Linked DNA regions of Homo sapiens: all the other regions are linked to region 3. The links are contacts of gene promoters, found by promoter capture Hi-C in human tissues and cell types (Jung and others, 2019). All regions are on one chromosome and are shown on one strand. The core of a region is centred on a gene start or on the middle of the fragment in contact, and the rest is flanking DNA. Distances in the headings are between cores, read along the strand shown. Region 1 overlaps ZNF791 (zinc finger protein 791). Region 2 has its middle 13 kb from the start of ZNF709. Region 3 holds the start of ZNF69 (zinc finger protein 69).

The links. The method cuts DNA at HindIII sites, captures the fragments that hold promoters and counts their contacts. A contact is called where the count stands out against the background at its distance.
Region 1: a fragment that was not itself captured here is called in contact with the fragment with the promoter of ZNF69 in region 3 in 1 of the 25 tissues and cell types used here (dorsolateral prefrontal cortex).
Region 2: a fragment that was not itself captured here is called in contact with the fragment with the promoter of ZNF69 in region 3 in 3 of the 25 tissues and cell types used here (bladder, hippocampus and mesendoderm cells).

The regions. Positions count from the first base shown.
Region 1 is chr19:12,628,132-12,632,199 of GRCh38, forward strand. It overlaps ZNF791 (zinc finger protein 791), which reads left to right. Exons shown (of 4, transcript NM_153358.3): 4 at 1-4,068. The coding sequence ends at 1,129. Among named protein-coding and RNA genes, the nearest start is that of ZNF791, 19 kb to the left of the region's middle. The HindIII fragment of the contact is 6,065 bases long and covers 1-4,068 here.
Region 2 is chr19:12,495,331-12,499,372 of GRCh38, forward strand. No RefSeq gene overlaps it. Among named protein-coding and RNA genes, the nearest start is that of ZNF709, 13 kb to the left of the region's middle. RefSeq lists enhancers at 1-72, 73-952, 214-293 and a silencer at 1-23. The HindIII fragment of the contact is 4,297 bases long and covers 300-4,042 here.
Region 3 is chr19:11,885,801-11,889,724 of GRCh38, forward strand. It overlaps ZNF69 (zinc finger protein 69), which reads left to right and starts at 1,982. Exons shown (of 4, transcript NM_001364730.1): 1 at 1,982-2,186. The coding sequence starts at 2,124. RefSeq lists an enhancer at 2,179-2,228. The HindIII fragment of the contact is 10,336 bases long and covers 780-3,924 here.

The DNA.
Region 1 (4,068 bases), core at 727-3,226, 740 kb after region 3:
TTCGCTTCGAGTTCATGAAAGGATTCACACTGGAGAAAAGCCCTATGAATGTAAACAATGTGGGAAAGCCTTCAGTTGTTCCAGTTCTATTCGAGTACACGAAAGAACTCACACTGGAGAGAAACCCTATGCATGTAAGGAATGTGGGAAAGCCTTCATTTCCCACACAAGTGTTCTAACACACATGATAACACACAACGGAGATAGACCTTATAAATGCAAAGAATGTGGAAAGGCATTCATTTTTCCCAGTTTTTTACGAGTACATGAAAGAATTCACACTGGAGAGAAACCCTATAAATGTAAACAATGTGGTAAAGCCTTCAGATGTTCCACCTCCATTCAAATTCATGAAAGAATTCATACTGGAGAGAAGCCCTATAAATGTAAAGAATGTGGGAAATCTTTCAGTGCACGCCCAGCCTTTCGAGTACACGTGAGAGTGCATACTGGAGAGAAACCCTATAAGTGTAAAGAATGTGGGAAAGCCTTTAGTAGAATCAGTTACTTTCGAATACATGAAAGGACTCACACTGGAGAGAAACCCTACGAATGTAAAAAATGTGGGAAAACTTTCAATTATCCTCTAGATTTGAAAATCCACAAGAGAAATCACACTGGAGAAAAACCCTATGAGTGTAAGGAATGTGCAAAAACCTTCATTTCTCTTGAGAACTTTCGAAGACACATGATCACCCACACTGGAGACGGACCTTATAAATGTAGGGACTGTGGGAAGGTGTTCATTTTTCCTAGTGCGTTACGAACACATGAAAGAACTCACACTGGAGAGAAACCCTATGAATGTAAACAATGTGGAAAAGCCTTTAGTTGTTCTAGTTACATTCGGATACATAAAAGAACTCACACTGGGGAGAAACCTTATGAATGTAAGGAATGCGGGAAGGCCTTTATTTATCCCACAAGCTTTCAAGGACACATGAGAATGCATACTGGAGAGAAACCCTATAAATGTAAAGAATGTGGGAAGGCCTTTAGTCTTCACAGTTCCTTTCAAAGACATACAAGAATTCACAATTATGAGAAACCTCTTGAATGTAAGCAATGTGGAAAAGCCTTCAGTGTGTCCACATCCTTAAAAAAACATATGAGAATGCACAATCGATAGAAACTCTATAAATGTGAGAAATAGGAGAAAGTTTTCAATTCTAACAGATGCTTTCAAAGTTGTGAAAATTCCCACTGAAGAGAGAAATCCTGTCAATGTAAGTAATATAGAAAGCGAGATACAAGATGATTCATGTATAGTCAGGTACCACATAATCATGTTTCAGTCAGCAATGGACCATATAGGTTGGTAGCCCCATAAGATTATATAACACCTAAAACATTTCTATCAACCGCAATTTAGTAGCAGTAGTAACACCATAGTGCAGCACATTATTTAAGTGTTTATGGTGCTGGTGTAAACGTGCTGCACTTTCAGTTGTATAAAAGTACAAGACAGCGGCCGGGGACGGTGGCTCACGCCTGTAATCCCAGCACTTTGGGAGGCCAAGGCGGGCGGATCACGAGGCCAGGAGATCAAGACCATCCTGGCTAACACGGTAAAACCCCATCTCTACTAAAAATACAAACAATTAGCCGGGCGTGGTGGTGGGCGCCTGTAGTCCCAGCTACTTGGGAGGCTGAGGCAGGAGAATGGCATAAACCCAGGAGGCCGAGCTGACAGTGAGCTGAGATCCGGCCAACAGAGCGAGACTCTGTCTCAAAAAAAAAAAAAAAAAAAAAGTACAACACAGCTGGGCATGGTCACACCTGTGATCCCAACACTGGGAGACTAAGGCAGTAGGATTGCTTGATGCCAGGACTACTCTGGTCAACCTAGTGAGACCCTGTCTCTACAAAAAATAAAAACATTTTCTAAGTGTGGTAGCACACCCTGTAGTCCCATCTACATGGGAGGCTGAGGCAGGAGGATTGCCTGAGCCCAGGAGTTCAAGGCTACAGTGAACCAAGATCACGTGATGGCAGTCCAGCATGGGTGACAGTGAGACTGTATCAAAAAAAAAAAAAAAAAATTGGCTGGGCACAGTGGCTCATACCTGTAATCCCAGCACTTTGGGAGGCTGAGGTGGGAGAATCAGTTGAGGTCAGGAGTTCAAGACCAGCCTGGTCAACATGATGAAACCCTGTCTCCATTAGAAATACGAAAATTAGCTGGGCGTTCTGGTGTGCCTGTAGTCCCAGCTACTTGGGAGGCCAAAGCAGGAGAATCGCTTGAACCCGGGAGGTGGAGATTGCAGTGAGCTGAGATCTACCACTACACTCCAGCCTGGGTGACAGAGCGAGACTCCGTCTCGAAAAAAAAAAAATTACAGCACAGATGTGCAATATATACTTGATAATAAATGGCTAAGTTACTGGTTTATATATTTACAATCCTGTTTTAGAATGTATTCCTGTGTTTTTTTAACAGTAAGACAGTCTCAGGCAGGTCCTTAAGGAGATATTCCCGGAAAAACTTTGTTATGATAGGCGATGACGGCTCCATGTGCAGGACTGCCCCTGAACGTATTCTGGCGGGACAAAACATGGAGGCAGAAGACAATGATATTGATGATCCTCACCCCGTGTAGTCCTACACTAATGTGTGTTTGTGTCTTAGTTAGTCTTTAACAAAAATAGTTTAAAAAAATTTAATAGAAAAAGCTTATAGAATATGGACATAAAATATTTTTGTACAGCTGTACAATGTGTTTTAAGCTAAATTATTACAAAGTTTTTAAAAATAAGTTTATAAAGAAAATAATGTACAGTAAGTTAAGGTTTATTCATTATTGAGGAAAAAATGTTTTTATGAATGTAGTGTAGTCCAAGTGTACAGTGTTTATAAATTCTCCATTAGTGTACAGTAACATCCTGGGCCTTCGCATTCACTCACCACTCAACTGACTCACCCAGAGCAACTTCTAGTCCTGCAAGCTATGTTCATGGAGTGTCCTATGCAGGTGCATCCTTTTTTATCTTTTATACTGCATGTTTACTCTGTGTATTTTCTGTGTTTAGACTCATAAATACTTAACATTTTGTTACAATTTCCTACAGTGTTCAGTACAACAACATGTTGTATGGTTTATAGCCTAGTAGCAATAGACTGTACCATATAGTCTAGATGTGTTGTAGCTATACCATCTAGATTTGTGTAAGTTCACTTTGTGATGTTTGTACCATGAGGAAATCACCTACAACACGTTTCTCAGAACATATACCCATGATTAAGCAATCTCTGCCTGTAAAATGCTCCAGAAAATTCACACCATGATATAAATTCATCACACACGATATAAAAGTTAAGGCAAGGCATGGTGGCTCATGCCTGTAATCCCAGCACTTTGGGAGGCCAAGGCAGGCAGATCACCTGAGGTCAGGAGTTCGAGACCAGCCTGGCCAAGACGGTGAAACCCCATCTCTACTAAAAATACAAAAATTACCTGAGCGTGGTGGCATGCACCTGTAATTCCAGCTACTTGGGAGGCTGAAGCAGGAGAATCATTTGAACCTGGGAGGTGGAGGCTGCAGTGAGCTGAGATTGTGCCACTACACTCCAGCCTGGGCAACAGAGCAAGACTCCATCCCACACACCAAAAAAAAGTTAAAAATTTTTTATCACTGGCTCATTCTTCAAGTACATCTCTGGACTATGAATTGTAACTTAACTACTTTTCCAAGAAGTCTTGGAAGTGAGATAATTCTGTAAGTACTCTTTAAGCAGTGGTCAAAAGTTTAAAAGGTTGTGTTTTCTCATTAAATCAGTTAGTAAAACTTTTCTCTTTCTCTTGATGTCTTGATTCATGAGTAAACTGAAGTGTATTTTTTTTTTTTCGAGACGGAGTCTTGCTCTGTTGCCCAGGCTGGAGTTCAGCGGTGTGATCTCGGCTCACTGCAAGCTCCGCCTCCCGGGTCCACGCCATTCTCCTGCCTCAGCCTCCCCAGTAGCTGGGACTGCAGGCGCCCGCCACCATGCCCAGCTAATTTTTTTTGTATTTTTAGTAGAGATGGGGTTTCACCGTGTTAAGCCAGGATGGTCTCAATCTCCTGACCTCG
Region 2 (4,042 bases), core at 1,198-3,697, 610 kb after region 3:
AACAGGGGGTGGAACCTCACAAACTGTCCAATTGGAGACGCCGCCGGAGCGGTGGGTGGGGCCGCCCTGTACAAAGGCGCGTGGATACGGTGGCGCGATTTCCAGTTTGTGTCTCTCCTGCCTCGAACGTCGCTAGGTGGCTCTGCCGCAGCCTCTGTCGCTCTGGGACCCGCACTGGCAGAGGGAGTCGTAGTTAGGGGGTGGGGACACCGCGGAAGCCCGGAAATGGTGACTGTGCGGGGCCTGGAATCCCGAGACCTGAAGAGCTGCTGGCCGGAACCGGCTGTCGCGGGAACCGGGCCTGCCCGCGGCCACTCCTGGGTCTGTGAACCCGAGTCCCCCTGGCGTAGCTCGGCCCTCGGCCTCCTCCCGCCGCAGAGTGAAGCTGGGCCGGCAGCCAGGATCCCGGGAGTCCTGTCCTGTCCCCGCGCGGCTACTGAGGCCCGGGTCCCGGAGCCCTGTGTGGGCAGCTCCATGCCCGTAGCCCCGCGTCTTCCAAGATTGTGTGGGGATCACGGGAGGGTCATAGGAGAGAAGGAATCCCGGCTCGAGTGTGGCGTTCGTGCGTGGGAGGAGCGGTGGTCCGTGGGGTCCCCAGTCTCTTCTTTTTCCCCAGGGGGACCGGTTTGCCCCTTAATTTTACAAACGTGTGAAAACAGGATCTCAAATCCACGACCCCGTTTTCCAGCCTAGCTCTTCCTAGGACTGACAGGAAATCCCTAAATTTGCCAATTCCTTCTTTCATTCCAAATGAAGCTTTCCCTCTCCAATTCATAATATTATTATTTGCCCTGTTAAATACAATTTGTAGGAAGCCATTGGTTTAGACTGAGCTCCTGCACTAGACCCAACAGACCAAACCAAAATGAGTTACCCACGGGGACGTTCCTCGCTACCAAGCTGAAACTAAGTTGTTTATCTGACCTTACAAATTATCAGGAGAGAAAGAGATGCTGGTCAAATCCCCAACAGGCCAGTTTTAGCCAACATGATAAAGAAAGTCCCCTCTGCTTTAACTTTTACCAGAAAAGCAACTTTGAAAGTTCCCGTCTTTCAACTGGGCGTGATGGCTCACGCCTGTAATCCCAGCACTTTGGGAGGCCGAGGTGGGTGGATCATTTGAGGTCAGGAGTTCGAGACCAGCCTGGCGAACATGGTGAAACCCTCGTCTCTACTAAAAATACAAAAATTAGCTGCATGATGGCCTGTGCTTGTAGTCCCAGCTACTCAGGGGGCTGAGGTGGGAGGCTCACTTAAGCCCAAGCCCTGGAGGTCGAGGCTGCGGTGAGCTATGATCTCGCCACTGCGCTACAGCCTGGGTGACAGAGGGAGACCCTGTCTCAAAAAAATAAACATCAATAGCGGTTGAAAGCCCCATGACTGGGGAGCAGCAGCCAGAGACTAGTGACTTCAAGCTAAGACCACTCTTGAGCCTGCAAAGGGAGGTCATTGAAAGCCCAGATGGGTCTTCCTGGGGAGCCTTCCCCAAAAGTGTCCTACTTGCTCTCACCCACCAAGGAAAGAGCTCTTTATACAGAGAGAAGCTACAGAGCACTGGAATGCTGGGAACCGCACGCGGTTTTAGGAGAACCGGGAGGGTTTTAATTGTCTAGGTTGTAATTGTAGTTTCCTTGGGTCTACTTTTAGACATTAGGTTTGAGTTTTGCTTTCACATTAGGGTACACTCGTGGTGTAATTTTTCCATATTGAAAAAGTCTGTGAAAGTTACAAGTTCTGTCTCCTGGACATGGTGTTAATGACTTTGGGAGTTCATTTGTGTCAGAACCTTCATCTGAATCCAGCTGACAGTTTCGTCACTTACGAGAACCAGTGGGAAGGGGCATTCTCTGCTCCCGGAGTTCATTCCTGTGGCTGCTCAGGTGTCCCTGCTGTCACCAGGGACTATTCCACTCTAGGGACTATACCCTAACAGGGAGAGAGTGTGGACTCCAAGCTTTGGTATGTGTTTAACCTTCTGGATGTTGGTTTTTCTTCTGAATTGCGGAGAAGCAGGCTGCTTATCTGAGCTGATTCAATGTTTGTGTTTCTTTCCTTTGGATTCCTTTTTCTATTGAATATTGCAGCACTTTAACTCCAGTTTCCTTTAACATTTTGTAATTTTATTCCCTGTATGAGTCTGTAGGATTTTTAGTTTGTTGGTCTTTGAAAATTTAAGTTGATTGAGAAATATGATGTAAGAGAAGCAAATCCTGGAACCAAATAGAATTTTTATTCCTTTCAGGCAAAAGAAGCTCATGGTGTGAGATGGATATGTTTAACTTCTCAGGTGCATTTTTATTTTTACATTAGTTTGTGTGTGTGCATATCCCTAGAAAACTTTCAAACTTCAAAGGCTCTACTATTCCCAGGGCAAATGGATTCCTGTTTTAATTGATACGAGGAAAACTACTCCTCAAAGCTTGTGTAATCTTTGAAAAATTCTACTACATTTAATGGTTATATCCAAACCCTAATGTATTATAATATGCTACTCTTTTTTTGAGACTGAGTCTTGCTCTGTTGCCCAGGCTGGAGTGCAGTGGCGCCATCTCGGCTCACTGCAAGCTCCACCTCCCGGGTTCACGCCATTCTCCTGCCTCAGCCTCCCGAGTAGCTGGGACTACAGGTGCCCATCACCACGCCTGGCTAATTTTTTTGTATTTTTAGTAGAGCTGGGGTTTCACCATGTTAGCCAGGATGGTCTCGATCTCCTGACCTCGCGATCCGCCCGCCTCGGCCTCCCAAAGTGCTGGGATTACAGGCGTGAGCCACCGCGCCCAATCTATAATATGCTACTCTTTCCTGAAAATACCCCTCAGTGTGAGATACAGTGGACAGACATGCTATGATGCAGATTCTCTTAAGATTTGAAATTTTACATTTCGTATAGTTTACACTTTTAAAAGTGTATAAAGGATTAAATCTTAATGAAGACAACTTAAAATTTAAAAAAAACTACATTATTTAAAGACTTTAATAGTAAAATATAGTGCAGATAAATATCTTCGTTCATTTTATTTTTTTATTTTTTATTTTTTTTGAGACGGAGTTTTACTCTTGTTGCCCAGGCTGGAGTGCAATGGCACAATCTTGGCTCACAGCAACCTCCACCTCCCAGGTTCAAGTGATTCTCCTGCCTCAGCCTCCCGAGTAGCTGGGATTACAGGCATGTGCCACCATGCCCAGCTAATCTTTTTGTATTTTTAGTAGAGATGGGGTTTCTCCATGTTGGTCAGGCTGGTCTCGAACTCCTGACCTCAGGTGATCTGCCTGCCTCGGCCTCCCAAAGTGCTGGGATTACAGGCGTGAGCCACCGTGCCCGGCCTTTTTAATGTATATTTTTAGACAGGGTCTTGCTCTGTCACCCAGGATGGAGTACAGTGGCACGATCGATCATAGCTCACTGCAGCCTCAGCCTCCCCTGCTCAAGTGATCCTCCCAACTCAGCCTCCTGAGTAGCTGGAACTACAGGCACATACCACCATGCCTGGCTAATTTTTGTATTTTTTGTAGAGGCAGGGTTTCACCAACCGGCAGGGTTGCCCGGGCTGGTCTTGAACTCTTGAGTTCAAGTGATCCTCCTAGCTCGGCCTCCCAAAGTGCTGGGATTACAAGTGTGAGCCACTGCACCAGGCCTCCATTCATTTTAGAGAGATAATACATGTGAAGGTTAAAAAAAAAAATCTATGAGACAGGAAAATCTAACATAAGACTCACTGTCAAGCATATCCTGGTTCATTCCAGGATTCTTGCTCCAGCCACCCCGCCCTTCGTAAAAACTTTTGGTAATTCCTTGTGCATCCTATTAGTGTTTCTTTATTAAAACAAGCAATTGCAGGCCAGGCGCGGTGGCTCACACCTGTATTCCCAGCACTTTGGGAGGCCGAGGCAGGCGGATTACCTGAGGTCTGGAGTTCGAGACCAGCCTGACCAACATGGAGAACCCTTGTCTCTACTAAAAATACAAAATTAGCTGAGCGTGGTGGCGGGTGCCTGTAGTCCCAGCTACTCAGGAGGCGGGCGCCTGTAGTCCCAGCTACTC
Region 3 (3,924 bases), core at 732-3,231:
AGGCGTTGTGTCATACCATGCATCCGTAGGCTAATACAAAGGATTGTACGAACAGCATTTACTGAAACCTCCCTTAGTTCTCCTCCACCTTATTCAAGTAAGCTTTTCCTTTTAAAAGATCAAATCAAACAGCAAAGCCAAAACACGTTAAAAAAGTTTAAAGAGAAAAAATCATAAGAAAATTAAAAGGGAGGAATTGTAACATACAGTAAATTTCTCTGAGTTTCTTTTTTTTTTTTTTTTTGAGACGGAGTCTCACTCTGTCACCCAGGCTGGAGTGCAGTGGCGTGATCTCGGCTCACTGCAAGCTCTGCCTCCTGGGTTCATGCCATTCTCCTGCCTCAGCCTCCCGAGTAGCTGGGACTACAGGCGCCCACCACCACGACTGGCTAATTTTTCGTATTTTTTAGTAGAGACGGGGTTTCACCATGTTAGCCAGGATGGTCTCGATCTCCTGACCTCGTGATCTACCCGCCTCAGCCTCCCAAAGTGCTGCGATTACAGGCGTGAGCCACCGCGCCTGGCCTCTCTGAGTTTCTCTTCAAAGACTTAGCCTGCTAACTTCCTTGTCTTTTGTTCTCCAGCTCAACTTTCCTGTTCCTCCTTGCCCCTAGTTACTGTAAAACAGCCTACCCCCTTCCCGTCAGCTCTAATCAATAACTCACATCTGTTCCCTTGGTTACCTGTACCCATTGTTCCCCCGAAACTGCACGTCTCACACGCTCCATCTCTGTACCTCACGTTCCCCTCTCCTTCTATATTTAGAAAAATACGTACAAGTAGCCAGTCGGGTCAGCTCAGATTGTGTGGTCGAACCCCAGCCCATGAAGGAGTGACACAGAGATAGGGACCGCATTAAGGATAAAAAAACCCCCGGTGACCTTTGTTCTCTGTGCTCTTGTGATCTTGATTGACACAAGTGGCACACTTCTGCAGAAGTAAATTGCCTTGCTAAACAAATGAAACTTTCCCCTAAGTGCTAGTTTTACTTCGTGGGACCAAGAATTTATTCCTAAAGCATTTTATATCCGACAGAGATATTCATATATATAAAGAAAATGTGGGCCAGGCGCGGTGGCTCACGCCTGTAATCCCAGCACTTTGGGTGGCCGAGGCGGGTGGATCACTTGAGGTCAGGAGTTCAAGACCAGTCTGGTCAACATGGTGAAACCTTGTCTCTACTAAAAATACAAAAAATTAGCCAGGCGCGGTGGCATGTGCCTGTAATCCTAGCTGCTGGGGAGGCTGAGGCAGGAGAATCACTTGAACCCAGGAGGCGGAGGTTGCAGTGAGTGGAGATTGCACCACTGCACTCCAGCCTGGGGGGACAGAGCGAGGCTCTGTCTCAAAAAAAAAAGAAAAGAAAATGTGTGAAGATCAGGCTAGAGACAGAAATGTTTGGGAGCGTCACCTGGATAAAGGGTTCATGAAGTTGGCAGTTTATTTAGGTCAAAAGCTTAACTTAACCCCTGGAGAGAGTTTCCTGCTGGTGAAAATGAAGATCTGGAAGGAGGAAGCATTTTCACACTGTGAGGAGGGGATGGGGGTGTGAGAGCAAGTCTTAGCCATGCCTCATCCCCAGTTGCGGCCCGCTCCAAGACATATGCCTCTCCTCCTGGCGCAGTCGTGTCTGGCCTGGTCTCGGTTCCCCTGCTGCTCTGAGGCAGGAGATGGCTCCTGTGGACACTGAATCTGAAATTCCCTGCACACTCCTGTGACCCCATGCAGAACGAAGGAGCAGGGACAGTCCCTTGAGTGAGGAAGACGCTAGTGTTCTCCTCTATCAATAGCAAGTTTGGCTGAAATGCAAATATCCAATAACCAGAGTGCAGGAAGGAGCTCGCCCTTGGAAAAGCTGTGGTCAGAATCCGTCTGTCTGGCTCTGCAGGGCCCGATACCCAGGGCTTCCGCTGTCACTCAGACATGGGGGGCGGGGCCTAGCATTCCATCCAATCAGAGGCATTGTGGCGGGTCCCTGCCCACTGTTCCTCCAGACACTGAGGGGGTCGCATTCCTTACCTCACCTTTGTCCCTGCGCGGGCTGCGGCTGGGATCCGGTCTTTCCAGCCCCGAGAGGGACCTGGTTCCTCTGCCCAGGCTTCTGTCACTCTGTCACCTACGCTATGCCCTGCTGTAGTCACAGGAGGTGTAGAGAGGACCCCGGGACATCTGAAAGCCAGGAAATGGTGCGTGTCTGGGGCCGGGTGTCGTGAGACGGGGGAGGGGCTGCCTGGACCGACCGGAACCGACTGTGGCGAGACCCTGGCTTTCCTGCGGGCGACTTTGGGATCTGGGACCGAGTCCTCCTGGAGCCGCTCGGCCCTCGGTCCCCTCGACTGCTCGGTGTGGCTGGGCCGGTAGCCGGGACACCAGGCGTCCTGTCTCGTCTCTGCGCGGCGACTGCGGTTCCAGAGCCCTCTATGGGCAGCTCCGCGCCCGCAGCCACGCGTCTACCCAGATTGTGCGGGGGCCACGGGAGGGTCATGTGGGTGATCCCGACTCGGGTGTGGGGTTCGTGCTTGGGAGGAGCAGCGGTCTGTGGGGCCCCCAGTGTCCACTTTTTCTCCTGTTAAAAATTAAACTGAGGAACGTTAACAAAGAGTTCATTTGAGCAAACAGCGATTCACGAATGAGACACACCCAGTCCTGGCTTGTGGTTTGTCAACGGAAAAAGCCAAACTATGTAAAATAAAGAAGTTTATTCGGAGCCGAATAGGAGAGACCTTGGCCGAGGGAAAAACAACCCCAAGAAGCCTGGAGTAAGTGGTCCCGAGGCGGCTCAAGACAGTTTGGTTTTATTCATTTTAGAGAGACAGGAATTGCAGGGAAAATCATGAATTAGTGCCTGGAAGGTGTAATTTCCTTAGGCAGAAAGGGAGGGACCTGGCCGGGCACGGTGGCTCACGCTTGTAATTCCAGCACTTTGGGAGGCCAAGGCGGGCGGATCACCTGAGGTCAGGAGTTCAAGACCAGCCTGGCCAACATGGTGAAACCCCGTCTCTACTAAAAATATAAAAAAGAAACTAGCCGGGCGTGATGGTGGACGCCTGTAATCCCAGCTACTCGGGAGGCTGAGACAAGAGAATTACTTGAATCCAGGAGACAGGTTGCAGTGAGCCCACACAGTGCCACTGCACTCCAGCCTCAGCACAGAGTGCGACTCTGTCTCAAAACAAAAACAAAAACAAAAAACAGAAAGGGCGGGACCTGTGGAAGGGGGGTTAGAAGGCACAGGTGGTTGAGGGATTCTGTAGGTGGCAGCTGGTTGAGAGTGTGAAGCTTTGTCTAAAGTTTGGAGGAGGTAGGAAGGAATGCTGAAGGAAGGGGGTCTGTTATCTGCCACTTGATTCCATCCCAGCCAAAAAACAGACCTGTTTCTCTAGATTTTATGAATTCTAAGGTGTGACTTACCCTTGTCTTGCGTGGCCTTAGGTCTTGTTTGTAATTTGGTATCTTCTTGCCACAAGGAGTCTGTTTTTCCAGTCAGATAATGTCTGTTTTTACATGAATGTGCGTCAGTTGCTGCATGTAAACTCCTAAAGGGAGAGGGTATAAGGAGGCCTGTCTCACCTCCCATCCTGTCATACAGAGGCACTCAATTTTCAGGGTTTTTTGGGGGTTCCCTTGGCCAAGAGCCGGTCACTTCACTTACCTGGGAAGGTACTTTGTTTTTGTTTTTATTTAAAACAGAGTCTCCTTCTGTCACTCAGGCTGGAGTGCAATGGCTCAATCTCGGCTCACTGCAACCTCCACCTTCCGGATTCAAGCAATTCTCTAGCCTCAGCCTCCTGAGTAGCTGGGATTACAGGCACGCACCTGAAGGGGGCCTGCCCCTCCACCCCTGTGGGTGTTTCTTGTCAGGTAGAGACAAGAGACTGAGTAAAGAAATAAGACACAGAGACGAAGTATAGGGAAAGAACAGTG